7 separate regions of the Homo sapiens genome follow, and all the other regions are linked to region 6. Evidence: promoter capture Hi-C in 16 types of primary human blood cells and fetal thymus (Javierre and others, 2016). All regions are on one chromosome and are shown on one strand. The core of a region is centred on a gene start or on the middle of the fragment in contact, and the rest is flanking DNA. Distances in the headings are between cores, read along the strand shown. Region 1 has its middle 18 kb from the start of CCN6. Region 2 holds the start of CCN6 (cellular communication network factor 6). Region 3 overlaps FAM229B (family with sequence similarity 229 member B). Region 4 has its middle 58 kb from the start of CCN6. Region 5 overlaps TUBE1 (tubulin epsilon 1). Region 6 holds the start of REV3L (REV3 like, DNA directed polymerase zeta catalytic subunit). Region 7 overlaps LAMA4 (laminin subunit alpha 4).

The links. Contacts are between HindIII fragments. The CHiCAGO score rates a contact against its expected background, and 5 or more counts as called.
Region 1: a contact is called between a fragment that was not itself captured here and the fragment with the promoter of REV3L in region 6, in 10 of 17 cell types (activated CD4 T cells, naive CD8 T cells, total CD4 T cells and 7 more). The highest score is 13.6, in activated CD4 T cells.
Region 2: the fragment with the promoter of CCN6 here is called in contact with the fragment with the promoter of REV3L in region 6 in 1 of 17 cell types (naive CD4 T cells); the score reaches 6.1 in naive CD4 T cells.
Region 3: a fragment that was not itself captured here is called in contact with the fragment with the promoter of REV3L in region 6 in 3 of 17 cell types (activated CD4 T cells, non-activated CD4 T cells and total CD8 T cells); the score reaches 6.6 in activated CD4 T cells.
Region 4: a fragment that was not itself captured here is called in contact with the fragment with the promoter of REV3L in region 6 in 4 of 17 cell types (activated CD4 T cells, non-activated CD4 T cells, total CD4 T cells and 1 more); the score reaches 9.6 in activated CD4 T cells.
Region 5: a fragment that was not itself captured here is called in contact with the fragment with the promoter of REV3L in region 6 in 2 of 17 cell types (naive CD8 T cells and non-activated CD4 T cells); the score reaches 6.2 in naive CD8 T cells.
Region 7: a fragment that was not itself captured here is called in contact with the fragment with the promoter of REV3L in region 6 in 1 of 17 cell types (activated CD4 T cells); the score reaches 5.6 in activated CD4 T cells.

Annotation. Positions count from the first base shown.
Region 1 is chr6:112,034,575-112,037,907 of GRCh38, reverse strand. No RefSeq gene overlaps it. Among named protein-coding and RNA genes, the nearest start is that of CCN6, 18 kb to the left of the region's middle. The HindIII fragment of the contact is 5,703 bases long and covers 1-3,333 here.
Region 2 is chr6:112,052,363-112,055,518 of GRCh38, reverse strand. CCN6 (cellular communication network factor 6) reads right to left here and starts at 1,415. Exons shown (of 5, transcript NM_198239.2): 1 at 1,114-1,415. The coding sequence starts at 1,161. The HindIII fragment of the contact is 6,629 bases long and covers 1-3,144 here.
Region 3 is chr6:112,093,887-112,097,242 of GRCh38, reverse strand. FAM229B (family with sequence similarity 229 member B) reads right to left here. Exons shown (of 4, transcript NM_001033564.3): 2 at 42-202. Among named protein-coding and RNA genes, the nearest start is that of FAM229B, 8.0 kb to the right of the region's middle. The HindIII fragment of the contact is 2,839 bases long and covers 276-3,114 here.
Region 4 is chr6:111,993,943-111,997,522 of GRCh38, reverse strand. No RefSeq gene overlaps it. Among named protein-coding and RNA genes, the nearest start is that of CCN6, 58 kb to the left of the region's middle. The HindIII fragment of the contact is 4,369 bases long and covers 1-3,580 here.
Region 5 is chr6:112,072,099-112,075,212 of GRCh38, reverse strand. TUBE1 (tubulin epsilon 1) reads left to right here. Exons shown (of 12, transcript NM_016262.5): 9 at 363-503; 10 at 2,315-2,455. Among named protein-coding and RNA genes, the nearest start is that of TUBE1, 14 kb to the left of the region's middle. The HindIII fragment of the contact is 6,092 bases long and covers 1-3,114 here.
Region 6 is chr6:111,481,501-111,484,741 of GRCh38, reverse strand. REV3L (REV3 like, DNA directed polymerase zeta catalytic subunit) reads left to right here and starts at 1,524. Exons shown (of 32, transcript NM_001372078.1): 1 at 1,524-1,992. The coding sequence starts at 1,854. It also overlaps TRAF3IP2-AS1. RefSeq lists enhancers at 378-737, 2,578-2,637 and silencers at 808-1,197, 1,238-1,467, 1,638-1,937, 1,998-2,067, 2,128-2,207. The HindIII fragment of the contact is 6,397 bases long and covers 1-3,241 here.
Region 7 is chr6:112,163,685-112,167,194 of GRCh38, reverse strand. LAMA4 (laminin subunit alpha 4) reads left to right here. Exons shown (of 39, transcript NM_001105206.3): 13 at 1,919-2,035. Among named protein-coding and RNA genes, the nearest start is that of LAMA4-AS1, 71 kb to the left of the region's middle. The HindIII fragment of the contact is 1,697 bases long and covers 1,040-2,736 here.

The sequences.
Region 1 (3,333 bases), core at 41-2,540, 550 kb before region 6:
CTTCCTCCCACTGTTCCTTCAGCTGGCTTCCTGTGCCTGCAATGGTGACATCGCAAGCCTGCGTGTGCCCCCTTAGATTTGGAGGTGCCAGTCATCATCAGCTGGCTTCCTGTGCCTGCAATGGTGACATCGCAAGCCTGCGTGTGCCCCCTTAGATTTGGAGGTGCCAGTCATCAGCCTATTTGACATGGAGTCTATTTCTATGGGCATCTAGGTCTCTGCTATCTGCCGGGACACAACTCCCAAAGTATGTTCCGCACAACACAAATTCCACAGAGATGCTCATAGATGCTATTTAAAACAGGGAATAAATGCATTTTTATTAAAGTAATTTGGGTTAAAGTCAACCAGATTTATTTACTGAGCAACTTCTCCAATCCTTTAACTACCCAGTGCACTCATCCCCAGTAGGAAGATACGACAGGCAACATTTTCCAAACAAATTTGACCATGAAAACTTTTTTTAAAGAAAAAGGAAAATCCCGGAAACAGGCTTTGGAACATATTGCTCTCTCAGGGTATAATTTAAACTTTAAACTTTTTGGATATTCCTTAATATTTATCAATTGACTAGTGTTTTTACAGGTAACTACCTTATGCTCTCTGTGCTGTATTAGTTACTGGGAGATATAATTCACATGAAACAATTAGAAAATAGCTGCACTGAACTGAGTTGCATTTTTAAAACAAAATAACATTTAATTTTTTTAAAATTAAGGAATAAAAGAGAAGGCTACATAAGTCAAAGAGGCCTTTGTGGAGGAAGTGGTACTTTCTTTGAAGACCTTGAAGAATGAGTAGGGTCTACATGTGCAAGAGAGCAGAAGAACAGAAATTTACTTTGAGGAATTGGCATGAGCCAGAACCTAAGAGCAGGAATGAGTGCAATGGGGTATGATATGGGGATAGGGCATGGGGCAAGAGGGACAGTGAGTGGACCAGCCTCAATACAGTATCAATGGGAATACTGAGTGTATGCAATAAAAAATGACCTTATTCATAAGGTGATACCCAGTTTTCCCAATGAGATAATTTTTAAAGAAAAATTTTAGTAGCCAACCTGAATGTGTAAACTGGTAAGGAGGTAGATAAATTAATCAACATCTCCTTGTAATATTTATTAATGTAGCACCCATGCTGTTACAAACTGAATTCTCCAGAAACAGATGCTGAGATGGAGTTTGGAATGTGAAATACTTTTTAGAGATCAATACCTGTCAAAGAAAGAGAAAAGAAGCAGGATTTAGCAGAGGAAGATATTAAACTGTGAAACAAGCCTGACAAAGACGCCACTAACCCTGCAAAGAGCTCTGGAGCAAATGTTGCCTACCAGAGTTACCCTCAGTGAAGCCAAAGTGGCCAGGGCCTTATGTCTTTACCTTGCTTGGTCACCTGATGTGGACTGGCCCAATAGTGAGACCTCGGCCTAGGGAGGCCTAGTAGCTAACCCTGCTGAGGAAGGCCCTGATGGTGTCAATGTGTGGGCAGCAAGGCTTTCCTTGAATGCACATGCTTGTTTACAGTCATATCTTATACAACATACAAACAATACTTTTCTCCATCACATTTTATACATCAGTTTTTGAAACTCTTCTCGTGAATCACCATGATCCCTTAAGGCCATATTTTGAGTCATCTATCACAATTTTACAGAGTACCTCATCTCTACAGTCATCTAAGATATTGGATATATGGCATTACTTCAATCCATGGATGAAGCTGTTATTAAATATTTTATCCAAGCCACGATTTACCAGTTCCACCCCATTAGATTAGCTTTTATAACCTTTTTCCTGTAGTTGCATACTCATGATCTCCACAAAGTACCTTCTTACTGTATTTTTTAAGTAATCTTTCAAAAATAATCACTTTTAAAATCTTAGAAGTAAGATCACACTCCCAGAAGTAATTACTAGTATTTGATGTCTTTTCCTACATTTTTTTTGTTCGAACAGGTAACCTCAATAAGCATCCCAAGCTAGCACTGATTTCAGTCTAAAATGTGATCCCCAAGCAGTGAACTTTTTTTCCAAATAAAGTAGTAGAGAAAATACACACATTACCAGTGCTTTTCAAAAGGCACCCAGCTTTGTAAAGACATATCTAAAGTGACTTTCTATTTGCCAAGAGATGATATTAGGAAAGAAATCTTGATTAATATTTTGGATGTACATGCCAAGTTTGTCCGGGTGACATGAGGCCAGGTCACCGAAGCACTGAAGATAAAGGAGAGTCATTTAGATGGAACATCACTGTGGTTATGAAACAGGAAAGTAGCCTGATAAACATCATCTTAGGAAACTCTGTGCAGCTAAAGACAGTCTTAAGATGTGTTTGGGGAAATACTGTGGAAACAAGTAGTCATCTCATAACTGATATAATTAGAAGTTATAATAGCTTGGACTTTAGGGATGGCACAGGAAAGGAAATGAAAGAAGTTAATGGAAACACATTTCTAAAGAATTAATAACCTTGAAAGCATGTTGGATGATAGAAGCATAGGAAAGTGAAGCGCCAAACAGGACTTTAAGAACCTAAAAGGAATACTTTATTTTTCAATTTGTTTTTATTATTATTATTTTATTTTTATTTTTGAGGCAGAGTCATGCTCTGTCATCCAGACTGGAGTGCAGCTGTGCGATCTTGGCTCACTGCAACCTCCGCCCCCTGGACTCAAACGATTCTCATGCCTCAGCCTCCAGAGTAGCTGGGACTACAGGCACCTGCCACCACACCTGGCTAATTTTTGTATTTTTAGTAGAGTCAGGGTTTCACCAAGTTGGCCAGGCTGATCTCGAACTCCTGGCCTCAGGTGATCTACTCACCTCGGCCTCCCAAAGTGCTGGGATTACAGACATGAGCCACTGCACCCAGCCTAAAAGAAACACTTTAAATATGTGGTCAGTATATCCTTGAGGAATGATTTCTTCATAATTTTATAGTTAGAAATTTCTAGTTGATGAATTTCTTGAAGAGATTTTAAATTACCCATGCGAAGGCCACAACAGGACACAGGGCCTGCCTGCACACCCACCTGCCCCAGCCATGGCTTTTTATCAAAAACCAAAATCAGATGTCTTTTTCTCTGCTGTCAGCACTGACCACAGTAAGTGCTTGTAAGACAAGCCCGATAGGTCACTGCAGGAGCCTAAACTGCATTACAGCCTCTGCATTCGCAGGGGCCACAGAATTATCAGATGTCTCCCATGTTCCTACTTTCCTGGGCCATGTTACTGTCCTTAATCTTGCAATCGCCATGAGAAAAGTTTTTACTTGGGAGCCCCCAGGGCTGGTACCTTTTTATTACTCTGATTTCCACAGTTAGCATACCAA
Region 2 (3,156 bases), core at 166-2,665, 570 kb before region 6:
TTTCATGAATTTATGAATTCATAAAAGCAAAGTTAAGCACAAAATAATCCATTTTTACCGCTCTTTGTGTAACACCTTTCTGTGTTTGTTGTTGTTTATTTTGTACACATCTCTCTGTGTTGGAATACCTGCTGTCTAAGAACATCTAGCTGCTCTCAATCCACAATGACAGGCTTTTTCTCAAGAACAGTGGAATAGGAGGCACACAGACAGGGGAGTGAGCCCCTCCACAGAACAGCAGCAATGACCTGGACCACTGACATTCTTGTCATGATTCTTTTGAAATCGTAAATCTCTCTCTATATGGTATAACAATTTGCAATTCCTTGTTTTCTAAGATGTATCTACTACTTATGGCCCCAATCAACTACTAACTCACAGACACACCCATGTTTCCTAAATCACCAGATTTCAAAAGCTCTGTCTCCTGTCTACCGTGTAAATAAATCAACAATTAAGTCACCTTGTTTTCATCTTCTTATTTAAAAAGACTAAGGCAATGAATTGCTCATAGTAAGTTAAACTTCCCTTTGGTCTGTTGCTTGAAATATTTCCAAGCCTCCATGGACTGCTTCCCTTTCAGGAAGTGAGAAACACATGGACTGAGAAAAGACAAAGTAAGAGAATGTTTTAAAAATGTAAATGTTTATTCCAAAGTGCCCCTTTCAAAGAAGGACAGACTTAACTGGAAAAAGTCGCTGTCAAAATTCGTTTTTCCAGGGGCTCTTTGCACATTTTGCAAACAGCAATGGAAAGTTGAGCCTCCGCCTGGAGCTGGCATGGAGAGACACTGTTTCCCGCACTGTGCCAGGCTGTGCCTTAGGCTCTGCTATAAAAATATATAGGAAAGCGTGGCGCTGTTCAAACATAGCGAAAGGAGGCTTCGGTGCCATTACCTGAAAGGGAGAAATGTTTTACATTTCTTTCATGAAGCTCATGAACGAACACAGAACTTTATTTGGAAAGAAAAATGGCTTCCTATTTCTCATGAAGTAGTTCCACAAGCCATTGATCCTCCCTCTTCCTCCATCTTCGTTTTGTTTAGTTTTGGGCCTGAAGAACTAAGGATGGCCATAGCCTCCGGAAGGGAAAGAGTCGGGGGAGAGGACTTACCTGTGCCAGGCCAGCAAGCAGAAGAGTGGAGAAGAGGAGCCCCTGCATGTCGCTGGGACCGTGGAGCCACCCTGAGGGGTAGAGAAGTCGCCGCTTGTTCATTGCTCCGGGTACACAAAGCTCCCCTGTCTCCTCTGCAAACCCCACGCTCCTCTGCACAAGAACACACACCCTCTACCTCCCACACTACCAACTTTCAGCCTGCACTTTCATTTTTAAGGATCCGTTTTAATACCCTGTTTACTTTCATGGGACTCTTCTAATAACCTGCCTTCGCAGTGAGCGTGTCACAGGTCAGGAATGGGCGAGCACTTTCCTCCCGGGACTCAGGAGGGCAGGGCAAGTAGTGACTGTTCTCTAAGTGACTGTGTTACCTGTTCCTGGAGAGCAGAGCCTGCCCCCGACAACGGGTGGGGTCCCACGTCATTCCCTTCCTTGCCCTCAGCTTCTCCATCTGTGTTTGCCCTGCTCCGGGTCCTCTCTAGGCTGCTTCCTTCTCCAGCTTCACCCTCACGTACAGAGTGCAGGCCTGGCCCCCCCACCAACAGCACCCATCGCAGCCTAGCCCTGGCTTTCCCCCTCCATATTAATGGCAGGCTCTCGAAGGACCCTGACTCCCCCAGCTCAGATTCTCTCGGAGGCACCCACAGTGCCCTGGGCTCACCTTTATCCCAACACCTTTCTCATGCCAGGTGGACTGTGAGTGGAAAAAATACAGATGGAGCAGGGGGCGGACTCCTACAGTACCTGGCCTGAGAGACGCCTCTTTTTGTGGCCACAGTTCCATGACAGATGACAATGAAGTTAACCTCCATTTTTCCGGGCCTAAAATAAAACAATTACACTGGTAGCAATCATTCATTTAATGAATTAAGATTAAAAATAAGCCTGGCCAATATGATGAAATCCCGTCTCTGCTAAAAAAAAAAAAAGACACAAAAATTAGCCAGGTGTGGTGGCAGGCGCCTGTAATCCCAGCTGCTTGGGAGGCTGAGGCAGGAGAATCGCTTGAACCTGGGAGGCGGAGGTTGCAGTGAGCCGAGATCGCACCATTGCACTCCAGCCTGGGGGACAAGAGTGAGAATTATTCTCAAAAAAAAAAAAAAGATTAAAAATAAAATTTTGACAGGTTTGTACTCCTCTTCTTCATACTCACCTCCCTGAAAGGTGTGACCACCAGCGCATCTCCTCCTGTGTCATCATGTGGGACCTTCGCTTCTCCATGTTCTCAGCCTGGGTCTGTGTTCCCATCTTCATTTGCAGCTGCCGTGGTGCTTTGTCCCTCTCAGGTCCCTGAGGCGTCCCACCTGCCTGCCCCCATCCCAAGGCCTATTTCTATTTCCTTTGATCAGTTACCTATCCCTCCTTTTCCTGCTGCCTTACCTATCCTATACCGATTGCTCACCTTTGTTACTGTTCAAGGCAGTCACTACTGTATAAAGACAACATCAAGCCTCGCTTAGGCCTGAGCTGAGGGCCTGGGAAAAACGAGGCTGTCCTCCACCACAGAGAATCTGGTGTCCTTGGAGAACCATGGACACCCTAAAACCTGCAGATCACACAGAGCTTACTAAGGAGTCATTAAACTGTAAGTATATGCACATCAAACAACAAGGAATACCCACTGCAGTTAGGATGCCAACGCCTTATCTTGCCTCCCTAAGAAATAGGACAAAACCAGATAATGGAGTAGTGAAGAAAATGTGTCTGTTTTGGTCCAATCTGATCTTTTTCTTTTCTTTTTTTTTTTTTATTATTATACTTCAAGTTCTAGGGTACATGTGCACAATGTGCAGGTTAGTTACATATGTATACATGTGCCATGTTGGTGTGCTGCACCCATTAACTCGTCCTTTAGCATTAGGCATATCTCCTAATGCTATCCCTCCCCCCTCCCCCCACCCCACAACAGGCCCCGGTGTGTGATGTTCCCCTTCCTGTGTCCCAGTGTTCTCACTGTAGAGAAGTCCTTAAATGACCTGATGGAGCTGAAAACCATGGCACGAGAACTACGTGATGAATGCACAAGCTTCAGTAGCCGAT
Region 3 (3,356 bases), core at 446-2,945, 610 kb before region 6:
ATTAACATTTAGCTAATTTGATCAAGGATAAATAGACTTACCAAAAGAGGCTGAGTCTGATTCCTGTAGAGGTGAATAAATCAATGCTTTCTACTGGCCTTTCCACAGAAGGCTGGAATTGCCAAAGGAATGATGATCAAATGTTCCGGTGACACCCGGAAATTATGACATCAGGAGATTCTTTCACATAGTTTCCTACCTGCTAAAGAATCAAACATCTCAATGCATAGCTCCAACAACAAGCTGAGGCTTAGCTAAAAATTTTCTCTAAAGCTTTTTGGAGAGTTTCATTCTTGTTTTTACTGGCTTATTTCCCTACAATATTAGTATTTTCATCCATGAGTGGGGACCTACAGTCTAATCCACCTGTAGTAAATCAGAATTGAGATTCTTCTCATTTTATATCCTGTTTTCCTCATTCCCTTTCTCTCCCAGACCTTCTCTTATAACATCCCAAATAAATCCCATCTGTCTACATCCTCATCTCACTCCAATATCCTCAAACCCAAATTGTACCTTTACAAATTTCTCTATAACTCTTACATGGGATTCTTTACACCCTCTCTCTAATGCCTGGACTAACTTTATTTTTTTTTCCTGTTTCCTCAAGAGAGTCTTCAAATTCCCAAATGGCTGGAATAATTACAATTGTGAAAGGAAGAATACATCTTTTTTGTTGTTGTTGTTGAGACAGAGTCTCGCTCTGTCACCCAGGCTGGAGTGCAGTGGTGCTATCTTGGCTCACTGCAAGCTCTGCCTCACCTGTTCACACCACTCTCCTGCCTCAGCCTCCCAAGTAGCTGGGACTACAGGCACCCGCCACCACACCCGGCTAATTTTTTCTATTTTTAGTAGAGATGGGGTTTCACCGTGTTAGCCAGGATGGTCTCGATCTCCTGACCTCGTGATCCGCCCGCCTCGGCCTCCCAAAGTGCTGGGATTACAGGCGTGAGCCACCGCGCCCGGCCGAAAGGAAGAATACATCTTGTACTGTCCTCATTATTCTGTTCCCTGAGCCCTGGGCTGCTTCTCTGCTCATTTCTCTAACTGCTCTCCCTCTCCCAACTCATTCTTGGCTTCTAGATCAATAGCCCACCTCATGAACTTCTCCTCTACTCAGTAATGTTTAGTTTAACCCTTATACCAGAACATAACTCTTCAGCTAAGCAGTTTTTCAATTTTCATATCCGATGACTAAACTATTAAATGTTAGTGAGCATTTTTACCACTGTTGTGTTTTCATATGACTCAAGTTATAGAAAACTGGCATTTTACATAAGAATTAACTTGATGTTGGATACAATCTTACCTCCACCTTCTTTTTCTTACTAGGGTACTATCTGTGAATAAGTTGATCACCATTTCAGCTTGGAAAAATAACTGACGGTGTCACAGTCACACAAACAAATAATTGCTGGCCATTGTGAGCTAAGGTATCATTAGGACCTAAACATTTGGTCCTTAGGATGGCAAAAAATGTAATAGTTTACATGTTTGAGAGGTGGTAGCAGTGGGGAGAATGATGGGTTTTAGCATCAGAATTAGGTTAGAGGTTTTTTTTTTTCTTTTTTTTTTTTTTTGGTTTTTTTTTTTTTTTTTTTTTTTTTGAGACAGGGTCTTGCTCTGTCATCCAGGCTGGAGTGCAGTGGCATGATCATGGCTGACTGCATGCAGCCTCGACCTCCTGGAATCAAGCAATCCTCCTGCCTCAGCATCTCAAGTAGCTGGGACTACAGGTGCACACCACTATGCCCAGCTAATTTTGTATTTTTTTGTAGATAGAGGGTTTTACCATGCTGCTCAGGCTAGTCTCAAATTCCTGGGCTCAAGTGATCCACCCACCTCACCCTCCCAAAGTGCTAAGGTTACAGGCATGAGCCCACTGTGCCCAGCCAGGTTTGAATTTTGACACAATGTTAGCTCTGAGATTTTAAGCAAATCACTAAAAGTTTGTCTGTAAAATGGTATTAATTCCTACCTTACAGAGTTGTCGTGAGGAATTAAAAACAATCTAACATGTATAAAGCCAATAACTGGGACACAAGAATTCAATCAGCACTACTTCCTACATATTTTTGTGTCATTCTTGAAATCAGAGTATTGAGACACTGATTTCACCTTTTAGTCATGGATATATATGAAGTAAAATATCTGTAAGTGGGGTATTCTTAAAATCCTGTAATTTACCATTTTAACTAGTCCATTTGGCATACCATGCTTCTTTAGAATGGGTGATACAATGAAACAAACCAAACAGTAGTCTTAATGATGAAACTTTACAACATTAGAATGATACCTCAGAAGACAAAAGGAATTTGAGTCTCCAGCATATTTTCATAAAGCAATAGATAAACAAGAGCAATGCAAATGGTGAATAAAAAGATGAAGTATCCAAATACCCCCTTAAGTATCACAAGCTCAAGAGTAATAGTCTTTCAATTCTCAAGATATTAATTCATGAGATGCAGAAAATGAGTGATATTTGAACTTGTCATGTTCTAAGAAAAAAAGACCCATGGACTTCATTCATTCATTCATTTAATGAATATTTGCTGAGAATCCACCATGAGCCAGGCATGTGTTAAGTGTTAAAGATAAAAGATTAAGCAAAAACAAACACAGTTCCTGTTGTGGTAGAGTTTGTAGGTTACGATAGGATTTGTTTTAGTCTAGGATATTTAATCTAAATCTAAGAGATGGGGGGCATTAATTAGGTGGAAATGAGTGGGAGACAAAAACATTGACACAGTTGAGGAGGGGGCAAAGAGGAAAACAGCATGTGGAAAGGTCATGCTAGTAAAGACAATAAAAAATCTGAAAGGCCAGCATAACCACAGCATGGAAAACAGAAAATAAATGGAGTCTGAGACATAAGCACAGGCCAAATCACGCAGGAGCAAAAACTCAAGTTAAAATTTTAGACTTTATCTTATGAACAAGGAAGCCTATCAAATAATTTTAATTTCTCAGGACACATATTTAGGTTTCATTGATTTTTCTCTATTTTCTATTTACTATTTATTTTATTTCCACTCCAATCTTTATTATTTCTTTTCTTCTGTCTACTTTGGGCTTAATTTGCTTTTCTTTTTCTAATTTCTTAAGGTAGAAGCTTAGGTCATTAATTTTAGTGCTTTCTTCTTTTCTAATGTAAACATTTAATTCTATAAATTTCCATCAAAGCACTCCTTTAGCTGCATTCCACAAATTTTTTAATTTTGTATTTTCATTTCCTTCAGTTAAAATTTTTTTGCTTTTTCTTCTTTGACCTATGGGTTATTTACAATTATATTGTTTAATTTTCCAATATTTAGGAATATTCTACTTTTCTGTTACTGATTTCTAATTAGGTTCCA
Region 4 (3,580 bases), core at 177-2,676, 510 kb before region 6:
CCAGCACTGATGGGAGTAAGTGGTACCAATGAAGTGAAATCCTCAGCTGTCAGTCCTGGGCTTCTCTACCAGGGGAAACAATGAGAAATGTTTTTTGTTACCTCGCCTTTGTTCGTTGGAAATTTGATCAGAATTCCCATGTCTGCTATTTTCCTTCTGTACGCTTAACCAAATGCAAAGTCTCAGGCTCACGCTAGAGGTCGCTGTTGATCACATCCGAACCTCACCTCCCAACGCAGGCAGGAGAGGCAGGCTCACCGCCGCACGTCTTCACTGCAGTGGGAACAGCCTGCAGGCTTTGGTGGCAGGAAGATCAGTTTGGCCACACCCGGTTCAGGTACAGCGCATCGGCCTGCGAGGACGTTGCTTTTTATTTCACAGACAAAAGTATAAAACGAGGATAAAGCAGATAATTAAAGGTGCTTCAAATTAATTTGAATTTTTTTAAGTACTGCATAATTTATGACGTTTCAACACTTCCCTTCCCCTCCCTGTCTGACCCCCCAACCATATCACTTCTTCCCCCACTTCCATTAAGCAGTTTGAGGAGTGTACAATATGAAGGACTTGAATAAAAGCCCAGGCTTAAATATGGACCATACCTGCAGTTAGCCGCTATCACTGACACCACTGGGCTTGTATCCTTCCCAGCTGGTTCTACGCCCAGAATATAAAACAGCTAAGAAATAAAATGACAAGACAACAGGGCCGATAACATTGTAAGCAATTACAGCCTCTCTTGATGCTGAGAATCCTAAAGACGCCACCCAAAAAGCAGTATTCTAATCGAAGGCCATTATTAATGAACCAGATCTCTGCTTGGCTGACTCCTATTCTTCCTCTCCTAATTATATTCATCTGCTCCTTCTTTGGTCCTAACTTTGGAAATTGCTTTCAGCACAGACCAATCCCAAAGGCGAGCTGGAAGCCAGAGCTGAAATAAAAGTCGGCGGTATTATCATTTTGAGGCAAGTCACGAAGTATTTATTGTTTGCTGCATTTCCACTTCTGCCCTTGACTCTAGACCCAAAGTAGAATTGCAGTGGTGATGCAGTGACATCATACACGCAGACACCGGTGCAAAGCAGTGTCTCATTCAACATTAAGATTGTGGCACTGACGGCAAGGCTTAGAAAAATTCCCAAAAGATAGGGTCCAGAGCACTGGTGTCAACTAAAAAAGGTTTATTGGTAAAGAGTGTGGCTTTGACAACCCCCGACATGGGAAGAGAGCAGAGGCTGCAACAGCCTAGCAGGGGCCAGGATGCAGCCACGACCGTGGCTTCTGTGAGGAGGCTTATTACATGAAAGCAGCCGAGAACTTATTACGAGAGGCAGCCTACACTTGGGTCCCAGGCGGAGGTGCTGTCACTGAGTAGGATGAGAGGAAAGGAACCTCTAACAGTGTTATAGCAGGAGGGACATGGCATAGGTGTAGTTTAGAGGGAAGGAATCTGACTGTACATATTTATTTATTTATTTATTTAGAAGGAGTCTCTCTCTCTTGCCCAGGGTGGAGGGCAGTGGTGCGATCTCAGCTCACTGCAACCTTTGCCTCCCAGGTGCAAACTTTGCCTCCCAGATTCAACCTGGGAGGTACAACCTCAGCCTCCCAAGTAGCTGGGATTACAGGCACCCACCACCGTGCCTGGCCTAACTTTTGTATTTTTAATAGAGGGGTGTTTCACCATGTTGCCCAGGCTGGTCTTGAATTGCCGACCTCAGGTGATCCACCTGCCCCAGCCTCCCAAAGTGCTGGGATTACCGGCGTGACCCACTGTGCCCAGCCCACCTTTTTAATATTGTGGTAAAATATACTGCTATGTTCTGAATGTTTGTGCTTCCCCCAGATTCATATGTTGAAACCTGATCCTCCAATGTGATGGCATTAATTTGGGGAGGTGACTCAGTCATGAGGGCAGAGCCTTCATGAATGGGATTAGTGCCCATATAAAAGAAGCCAGAGGGAGCTTGTTGTCCTTCTGCCATGTGAGGACACATAAAAGGCATTGTTTATGAGGAATAGGCCCTCATCAGACACCAGATCTGTAGGTGCCTTGATCCTGGACTTCCCAGCCCCTAGAACTGAGGCTGTTCTGAGAGCAATAAATTTCTATCATTTATAAAATGCCCATTCTAAGGTATTTTGTTATAGCAGCCCAAACTAAGACATATATATATATATATACACACACACATATATATATTATAAAATTTACTATTTTCATCATTTTTAAGTGTACAATTCAGTGGCATTAAGTAGATTCACAATGTTGTGCAACCATCACCACCACCCATCTTCAGAACTTTTTTATTATCCCAGACTGGAACTCTGTAGCCGTTAAGCACTAATTCCCCATTTTCCCCTCTTCTCACTTCTTGGCAACCACCAGTCTGCTTTCTGTCTCTGTGAGTTTGACTATTCTACGTACCTCATAAAAGCGGAGTCATACAATATTTGTCCTTCGGTGTCTGATTTATTTCACTTAGCATCATGTTTTCAAGGTTCATTCATGTTGTGGCATGTCAGAACTTCATTCCTTCTTAAGGCTGAGTGATAGCCCATTGTCTGTATATACTACATTTTGTTTATCCATTCATCTGTCAGTGGCCATTTAGGTTGTTTCCACGTTTTGCATAGTGTGAATAATGCTGCTGTACATACTGGTGTGCAAGTATTTGAGTTCCCGATTTCAGTTCTTTGGGGTATATGCCTAGGAGTGGAATTGCTGGATCGATAGGGTAATTCTGTGTTTCACTTGTTGAGGAACTACCCAACTGTCTTCCACAGTAGCCACATCATTTTACGTTCCCATCAGCAAAGCACAAACGTCCCAATTTCTCCACGTCCTTGACCACACTTGTTATTCTCCTTTTGTGTGTGTGTGATAATAGCATTTTAATGGATATGATATGGCATCTCATTGTGGGTTTGATTTGCATTTCCCTAATGACTAGAGATATTGAACATCTTTTCATGTGCTTGTTGGCTATTTGCATATTTTCTTTGGAGAAAATACCCATTCAAGTCCTTTGACCATTTTGAATAGCCATAACACTTTTAAACAGAATGCTTCTGTCCTGACTCAGCCACTTCCTTGCTGTGTGACCCTAAGCTAGTTACATAATTTCTCTGTGCCTCAACTCCTTCATCCCCAAGATAGAAATAGTAGTATCTATCTCATAGGATTGTATGAGGATTAAATGAGTTTGTATCTGTAAATTATATTGAATAGTGCAATAGTAGACACTCAACTAATGTTAGATTTATCTCTACATAAGGTGGCTTAAGAGGGGAGAGAATGGGTGTAAGGGAGCAGTGAGGAGACAGTTTCCTGCCACCAGTATTGATGGGAATGGCCTCGGAGATCTTCTGGACCAGAGCCTTTATATTACAGGAAAGGAAAGAGATAAAAAGATAACTCCTATGCCCAGTATCAAGAGGGACCCTTAACACCACCTCTCCAATGTCCAATACTCTTTTCACCACACTTAGATCTTTCTCTCCTCTAACTTCTGCTTAAGACTGAAACCTCGTGTTAATGTCCTCATGGGATATGACTTGAACATCTTCAAAACCA
Region 5 (3,114 bases), core at 202-2,701, 590 kb before region 6:
AGGCAAGGTGTTGTATGCCTACTGTAGTCTCAGCTGCTCAGGAGGCTGAGATGGGAGGCGGCGGTTGCAGTGAGCTGAGATCACACCACTACACTCCAGCCTGGGCAACCAGAGCGAGACCCTGTCTCAAAAAAAAAAAAAAAAGAAAGAAAAAAAAAATGTAGATGTTGTGTGTTATATTTTATTTTATACATGATTGTTCTGATACTAACTTTCACTAATATGGAAGAAAAGCATGTGTTCTGCACTGAAGAACAGTGTACAAAAGAATTTAAGAAACTACCTGCTGAATAAATCGAGCTACATTTAAAGTGTATAATTTTAAAATTAAAAATTTTCTCATTTTAATGTTAACTTTTTAGCTCTGCAAGATTTGAAGGGTCCCTTAATATGGACCTTAATGAAATCAGCATGAATTTAGTTCCTTTTCCTCAACTTCATTATCTCGTGTCAAGCCTAACACCTCTGTATACACTGACAGATGTTAACATTCCTCCTAGAAGGTAAGGTGTAACTTTGTTTCAATTTTTTGAGGCCTCAAATTACTTTAAAAAACATTTTTAAGAGAAAAAAGTTTGCAATAACTCTAGTTATTTAATTGTATCATCTTATCTGTGAGAGTTGATGACATCCATTTTTGCATTAGATGAATGCATCTTTATTTAGAAGTAATTGTTGAAAAATGCCAGTATTAAACTATTTGAACTTAAATCTAATGATTAAATTTGTAGGCTTATGAAAAGTCCTTTGAAGTCTGACAAACACATTTGAATCCTAACTGTCGCTAGCTACAGGACTTTGGGCAAGTGACTTAAACTTTCTTAGTTTTTCTCATCTGTAAAAATGAAATAGTACCTACCTCATATACTTATTGGGTAGATTAAATGAGAGTTTGTTTTAAAGCTACTGTCACAGCCCAGTACCATAGAAGAATTTCAGATGTAACTCTGTATGTTTTCCAGAACACCTTGCTTTATAACTGTGTGTCATTGTTAAGCATAAAGATTACATCAGTATACTTAACAAAAAATGTAGTTTTGAAAGATACTCTTAGCATGTATACTGATGATGAGCTTGAAAAGTTCACAGTGGCATTCACAGTTGACTGAGGGAAAAAGTCCTGCCAAACTCTGTAAGGAGACAGTATGTAAATAAGAAAGGGAAAACTAAATTGGCTGAGTGCAGTGGCTCACACCTGTAATTCCAACACTTTGAAAGGATGAGATGGGAGGATCACTTGAGCCCAGGAGTTCAAGACCAGCCGGGGCAACATAGTGTGAGACCCTGTCTGCACTTGTAGTCCCAGCTACTCTGGAGACTGAAGTGGGAGGATCACTTGAACCCAGGAGTTTGAGGCTGCATTGAGCTATAATTTTGATCCTGCACTCCAGCTTGGGCAACAAAGGAAGACAGACCCTGTCTCTAAAACAGATTGAAAATAATTTTTTAAAAGTTTTTAAAGAAAACTAAAGATTCTTTTTTATAACTAAAGTTTTGACAAGATAATTCTATACTTCAGGAATGTCACAAGTGATATTGGTAAGTTTTCATCTAAGCCAACAGCAAATGACCACTTTGCCAACTAATAGATAGGACTCCGTTTCTGCATGGGATGCTGATGACCTTAACAAGCTAAGCAACATACACAGTGTATGCAACATGGTGATTATTAAATGTCCATTGGCATCAGCCTAGCATTGGAGTCTGTGTATTGTTAGATATAAACTTTGTCAGTCACCTTTATTTTCTTTTGTCTTTTATCCTTCAGTTAAAAGACTTAGGTTAAAAGTCTCTACTTTTAGGAGAACTACTATGGAGTTTCATCTTTTATAGGAGAGCTTCACATTGTCCTTTGATAATTTCCTCCTGTTAACAAAATTTATGATATAATATACTTTACAAAGTAATAGTCTTAATGTTCTAGGCTTTTAATTAGTTTTAGTAGTTTGGATACTATGAAATAAATAAGGTATACCGAACTAAGTAATAATAATACAAGTTTCAAAAATCAGTACTACATAGAGTTCATAATGCTACAGTCAACATTTTGTAGCTACCTGAAATCACCCATATACTGCAGAAGCCTTTTCCCCCAGAAAAAGAAAATATTATATGATTTCTTCTCTTCTCATATCATTAAGATTGCTTCAAGAAAAGTATAGTTATTTAATATTTTTAGAATATATATAATCTAATATTTTGTTAGTGTAATATTTAGTGTGGTTTCTTACTTATAGAGGACTATCTTCATTTTATAGTTATACATAGAAAGAAGTAATATTTTGTATAAACAATGACAATTTCATTGTTGCAGATTGGATCAGATGTTTTCAGATGCCTTTAGTAAAGATCACCAGCTGCTTCGGGCAGACCCCAAACACAGTCTTTACCTCGCCTGTGCACTCATGGTTAGAGGAAATGTACAAATTTCAGATCTTCGTAGAAATATTGAAAGGTTTGGTTTATATTTTTAAAGATAATTTGTGTGTGCTGCTTGGGACAGTGTGGCATAGTAGTTAGTTAACAGCCGCCCTTCAAATTCTAGCAGTGCCACTTACTAAAGTGTGACTGTGAACAAACTACTTAGTCTCTTTGTGCCTTGTTTTCTTCAAGTGTAAAATAAGGATAATAATAGTACATGGTTTTTATTTAGGAGTCTTAAATGATATATGACATGTTTTATTTTATGAAAGTGTTCAGAAAATCGTAGCTATACTATTTTTATTACCACTGCCACCAGTACTACTATAGTAGTACTACTACTACTTCTGATTTTTGTGTTACTATTTCATTCTATTTGTAAGAAAACTAGTCTGTTGAATTACAAAGTAAGGAAAATGGTAGTACCTTCATTTCTTTATATCCCTAGATTTCTACTCTTAAGGAATGAGTTTCTAGCTTCTTGAATCACAACACAGCCAATTTAATGTTCCCCTACAAAATGTCTCTTAGTTCACTATCAGACTGTACCATGTTACTGCCAATAGTAAAAAATAGATAACTTAGCGTCTAAACTAAGCAAGTAGATTGATACCATCCATAATGTTCTGGTTTAACTAATATGAGCTGCCATTATATGGCAGACATTTTTAGTACCTTAGTTCTCACCTTCTG
Region 6 (3,241 bases), core at 275-2,774:
GTATAACACACAAATGTAAAAGAACGATCTCTACTTGGATGGGTTAGAAATGTGTCAAGGGTCCTAATTCAGGGGCAAATTTCGAACTTGAACCCACGCTTTCTGCCTCCTACAGCTTGCATCTTTTTGTTGAGAAGAAACCCTTCAGGATTAGTTTTTAAGAGAAACCTTCCCGTTTTACATATGTAGAAACTGAGCCCAAAGAAACAAAATTATTTGTCCAAGGTCACGCCCAATATCAGTGGCCAAGTCAGAGAGGAACCCCTTGTTTCCAATTTAATAGCCAAGCCAGCTGCATGTTACTACTCTTTAAAACAAAAATTCCCTAACTGCATCGCTTCACCCCCTCTCGATTTTTGAATAAAGTTGTTTATTCAAAACGGCCCTTCCCCACGGTGGTGCTTTTATGCCTTCGGGTAGTAAAACCTTCCATAACGTGTTAGTGAAAAACACGAGGAGGCCACGTCTAACGCGGTGACTTTCACAGGCCTTTTTCTTTGGCCAAAATTTTCTCGGAAAGACTGTTAATCCTACATTCCGCTGGGGGAGGAGCGACGAGGGAGGAGGGAGGTCACCGGCAGCTGACAAGTCCTTACATGTACTTGCGCGTGCCCGGGACGCAGCCTGCGGGGCCGAGGAAACCAACGAAGGATGTATTAGGACGAGAGGGAAGGAAGGGGGCGGGAGAAAAACACGGTAGTGGGAAATCCCTGTGCACTGGATCTGCCAACCCCTCGCAAAGCTGAGAAGAGCCGTGCGTGAATAAATCTCATTAAATGGCCCGGCGCAGACACTGCAGCAGCAAAGAGGAGGGGGCACCGCGGCTCGCGCGGCACGTTCGGGAAGGGGGAACGCCAGGGCGGCCCTTTTATAGGCCGAAGCCCGCGCCCGCGCGCCCCCACCCTTCGCACCGCCCCCGGGCCACGCGCGGAGCCGCGGCGTTACCTGAGAAGGGCCGGCTGCGTCCGCACCCGGCCCCGCCCGTTCCGCCGCCCGCCCGCCCTTCCCTCCCGCGAGGCCGCAGCGGCACGAGATCTGCGCCTCGCCTCCCTCCTCACGCGGGCGGATTTTCTTACCTTGTGAAAAACCGTCTCAGCGGCTGCCCCCGCCTCCTCTGCTGGATGTGAAATGGCGGTCGGCGAGGCAAGTGTGAGCATCGCAGCTCCTGCCAATCCTGCATAGCCGCCAAAACGGCCCCGAACACTGGCGCCCCCCTCCCGCAAGCCCCTCGGAGCCCATCCATGAGATCGGTGCTCCGCCGCCCCTTCCGCTGCCCCTCACCCAGGTGACCGTGCCCGCCAGCCGAGTCATCGATCCCGCGCGGGCGCTGCCGGCCGCCGGCCGCCTCCCTCGCCGCGTGCCCGGGGAGGGGGAGAAAGCCCCTTCTCGGCCCCCGCCCTCCGTGTCCCGCCCGGGCGCCCGCCCTCTCGCTCCTTTTCCCGCCGAGCCCCCTCCCCCGCACTACTCGCAGCCTCCCTTCGCCACACACACCCCCCTCTCCCCTCCCCCCAGTGGTTGCGTCCGTGACATCATCATCATGGCAACAAGAGCTGCAGCCTGGGACCGAGGAGCCCGTGTGATTCCCGGCGGTGGCGGCAGTGGCGGCAGCACCAGCACCGACGAAAGCTCGAGGGCTTCTCTCCTGCGGCCCCTTGCCGGGTGCTCCTGAGGAGGCGGCGGCAGCAGCGCCTACACCGCCCCGCCCGCCGCTCCTCGAGGTGCCTCTGTGTGAGGGGAGGGGGCCGTGCCGAGAAGGGGAGGGGGCGCCGCCGCCGCTGCGGAGGGAGCCGCCGCCGCTGCTGCTGCCGCTGCCGGGTCGCCAGTGAAGGGAGGCAGTGGCGGCGGCGGCGAACATGTTTTCAGTAAGGATAGTGACTGCAGACTACTACATGGCCAGCCCGCTGCAGGGGCTGGATACCTGCCAATCCCCCCTCACCCAGGCCCCTGTCAAGAAGGTGCCGGTGGTGCGAGTCTTCGGAGCGACCCCGGCAGGTAAGCGGGCGCCGGGCGCGGGGCGGGAGCGGGAGTCGGCGGGGCGCCGGGGCCGCCCTCCCCGCCGCGCACACGCGCACACGCCACCGGCGCCGGCCGTCTCCGTGGATCGCTGCCGCGTCTTCCCTCCCCTCCGCCCTCCTCGCCTTTTCTCTCGTGCGTGACAAGAGCCGCAAAAATGTGGGTCCGCGCGAGCGCTGCGCGGCGCCCCCACCCCCGGGCAGGGAGGTGGCGAGCGCCGCGTGTTTAGACTGCGTGTGGCGGCCGGGAGCGGGAGCCGCACTCCAGGGCGCGGGCCGGGAGAGCGAAAGCCGCGGGCGCCCCGGACGGCGGGCCAGGTGGCCGCGCCATGTCCATCGGTGGACGGGTTCGTAGGGCCTGCTCTGAGGTCGGTCGCTAGTGGGACATCCCTTGTGTCCCCCAAGTGCCGCTTTCTGGAAACGGGGAAGTGTCAGCCTTGTTGTCAGTCGCTCCCCATGGTCTCTTCTCACCCTCGCTCTCCTCTGCCAGTTCCGGAGATGCAGTGGGCCGGAGAGAGTGGCGCTTGGGGCCAGATAATCTTTCTCACTGGGGTGACCGTGTGGCTCTGCTGTGAGTGCAGGTCGTGACTCCTTAGAGTTTAGTGCCTGAGCGTCGGGGGACAGGGCAGCATCCTTAGGTGCAGTGCTTTCAGGAAATGTGCATCCATGGAAGTAGGAAATGCGTGTTTATGTTGCCCAACCTAAAACATCACACTTAATGGGGTGAATTTATTAGGAACCACAGCCAGACTCAGCAGCACAGACATTTTGAAATGCTCCTAGGCTGGGCTGTAGGATTGCGTTTTAAGTACAGGTATATATTTTTTAAACACAACTATGTTGAAGAAGGGATGGGAAGGGGAGACAGCCGTGACAGAAGGTACGTTCTCAAAAACTCCTGGGGCTTATGATAATATAAAAAAGATAGAGGCCCAGTTTACTAGGTGTTTTAAAATGGTTTTGCTTTTTTGCATGCTTTGAACTGCTTCCATGAAATAATGGAGTTCTAGGAAATAATGCATCTTAGGAAAGGTTGTTCTTCCCTCTAGCTATGAATTGCCCTATGGGATTTTAGATAGCATTTCCCACTTGATGCTCCTTGCCCTCATCACCATTCATCTTATTACTACAGTCAGTTTCTGTGGACTACCAAGATAATAGCGCTTTCCCAAACACAAGCACTCATTTTAAAGCAGTTATCTTTTAATGTGAATTCTCTTTGTTAAAAT
Region 7 (3,510 bases), core at 639-3,138, 680 kb before region 6:
AATAATCCCCAAATTTCAGTTATCATACAAAACCAAAAAAGTACCCACAGAGCTTAATCATTTTGACATGTACCAACAGTAGCCATACAACTAGCAATTACATTATTTTGTCATCTTACCTCTATCTCCAAAGGGTAACAGAATGATTAAAAACTTATCAGATGAACATGAGATTGTATAGTTTAAAAGTAAGTAAAATACTCCTTCAAAAGCACTGTTTAGGGATTACTATATACCCAAGCTTTACCTTCCCAGGACTGTTTTTTGTTGTTTTTGTTGCTGTTGCTGTTGCTGTTGTTGTTGTTGACCGTGGAACTTTTTCTATTTTTTTGCATATGTAATATGCACAGTGAAGCATGCTGAATAGTGACAATTGTGTCATTTTCATAATTATCAGTTTTCAACATTTTACTTTGTTCAAGTTGACCACTTTTCTGTGGAAATATCTTTATTTGTTTCAAAGCTAATTTTATTCATTTCTGTCTAATGCTATATACGGTAAGTGGGAGAAACTCATTAACTTGAAGCATATTGTTTTTCATCTACTGCAAATAAGCTTATATACAGTGCTATTAGCACACAGCTTTGAAGTTTGTCTCTGACTTCAGGGTGTTAGCAGTGTTCTCCCGCAGTCACCCAGAGAGAACTTACAGAAGGGGTAAAGAACACTGTAAAAGGAAAACAGTTCTGTGAGAGGTAAATAATACCAACCTTTTTTCAACTCCCTTCTTTTACATATTTTAATACACATATTTTACAGTATTGCTTTTGCTGTATAACTCCCAGTCTTTGTAAAGATAAGAATAATTGATCTCAGATAGTCACACTGTATTAGGCTTGATGGATATTCAGGGAAAATTGTTTCTTTAAAAATGTTCTTGCATTAAGAGGATGTTCAAATGTGATTCTTTTCTGTCTCTAGACCTACACCTACCCCATAACAACATATCTGGAGAAGATGGGTTCCATTCTTCCTTTTCTTTAAGCCAGAAAAGACTGCAGGGAGTAAGAAAGGACATTAAGATGAACTTAAAAAGCTTTAAAGTATTTCCTTCTCTATCTAGGCTTCTATAATTATTTCTATGATATTCTAGATTACACTATAATGTATATTTCAACTCTGACTTGTTACTATTTCTAAGGTAACTTCAACTCATTTTTCACTCAAATTGTAAAATGAGTCTTTTACTTTTCCCTCCTAAAGTTTCTTTCTATGTTTCTTTCAAACTCTAAACTCATTGGAAGCCCCATAATATTTCTTCAGAATCACAATGTCCCTGCCTCTAGAACCTAAAAGTGATGGTAGAAATTAAAGTACTCATCAAGACATGTATTAGTATTTACTTTCCCTTCTCAAAACATCTGAGCATTTACAATAAAGAGCTCTGAGAGGTATGAAGCAAGATTAAAATTTGATGCTTTAATAGTAGGGCCATTTTTAATTTTTAAAAGGACATAATAAGATTATTTTTGTATATTCTCTGTTCCTGTCCAAATGGGCTGTTTGTGTCAGGCCCAAGGCTGGCACATGATAAATACTTTTTGAATTAATTCATATTCCAATCACTGCAAATATAGAGCCTGTGTTCAATCCTTTCTCCATAGTCCTCTTTTATATTCTGGGAAAAAGAGACAAATGCCCTCTCTAAGGCGCTAGCTCTCTTTGAAATGACGGTGTTATAATAATCCTCCGTATGTCTAATCTCCCAAGATTCTTACTGTTGTTATCTCTGTATTATAAATGAGAAAGCAGCATCAAACAGGTAGCATTCCCCAAAGGCACACAGCAAGGATGGAGCTGGGATATGAACCCAGATTTGTCTGAGTCCAAAGAGAGCAAGTTGACATTTACTGCTCTCCCCAACGCTTTCCCTAAAGACATATTCACTTCACTCTCCCTTACTCTTCCTTCCCGCAGAAACAACAGGAAAGAGTGAGGGAACAAATGGAAGTGGTGAACATGTCTCTGAGCACATCTGCGGACTCTCTGACAACACCTCGTCTAACTCTTTCAGAACTTGATGATATAATAAAGGTAAGGACGCACGTGACTTGTTCAGGTTTGTATTTCCAGCAGGTTACAACAGCAGCTCAGTGTCACAGAATAATAATAAATTCATATCTAACCAGTGAGCAGGCATTATAAAGATCAGATGACTGAATGTTTTAGTTTCTTGCACTGTACGATGACCACCAGCCACATATGACTACTTAAATTTAAATTACTTAAAATTAAATAAAATTAAAATTTTAATTCTTCAGTCACATTAGCCACTTTTCAAGTCCTCAGCAGCCACATAGCTAGCAGCTACTATATTCAGTGGCACAAGCATTGTGCAGAAACAGGCATTGCGCCACTGAATATAGTGGAACTTCTTGCAGAGAGTTCTATTGAAAATGCTGCTCTCGATCCATCCTACTCACTCTTCACTCATAAAGTTGTGTTTGATAAATCTGGCATTCAAAATCAATAAAAGTCACATTTTGTAAAAGTAGAAAATTTCCAATAAAATGCAGTGAACTGAACTATCATGAAATTACTCTTAGTTCATTTTATTACCTTTCGAAAGATATCACTTTAAGGTCATTTGATTGTCCGTTGACTATTTCAGCACCAAACTGTCTTTCTCTCCAAACTGACTCCCATCACTCTCCTTGGTGACAGCAAAATCCATATGGATGAAGTCACCGACTCTCTGACCTCCAGCTCCTTGAACTTGCCCTTTCCAGCAAGCTTATCCTCCAGTCCACCTCTGTTTTCCCACCTATGGCCATACCCAGATCTTGTCCTCAGTAACAGTACCTCCTCCCAAACCCTAGTTTCAAGCACCTCCCTCCCAGAGCACCATCTCCTATCTCACTTATTCTAGAATGCCCACTCCAGTAATTCTCTGGCCACATGGAGACCTCCCTGCCTTTTTTACCGTACCCCTCTCATGTCCTTTCTTCCCTCCTTAAGCAGCTCAAATTATCAAATATAATAATTCTTTCAAAATACCCTTAACTACCATATCTGCCTGTTCCTCTGTTGTACCTACCTGAGATTTCTGACTCATCCCCAGCACCATGGCCATACCAGAGCAGCTGCATGCGACTGGTGGGAACCCACTTCCCATGCTATCAGTTCTGCCTGGTGACTTGGCTTCCTGCTTTCTGAAAAATTAGAAACAAAGAGAAGAGAACTCCCTTCATCCTTCCTCCCCAGATCCGCCGGCCCGCCTGCATCTGTGCCCACACCTCTGCCTCCCCTCCGTTGTAAGCATTCCTTCTCCTGCCCGGCCTTGAAAACAGGTTGCAGGGTTTCACTCCTCAAGTTATGCCCTTTCTTCTGAATCATCCCGTTCTCATTCTTTACTTAATCATTACCATCAGCGTACAAACGTGCTGTACTATCTCCTATCTTTTAAATATCAAAAAGAAAAAAGCCCTGTAAAAAAATCTTTTATAAAGCTTGCATCCCCTCTAACTTCTGCCCTACCATTCTGCTCAGCTTCACAGCAAAATGTCTCG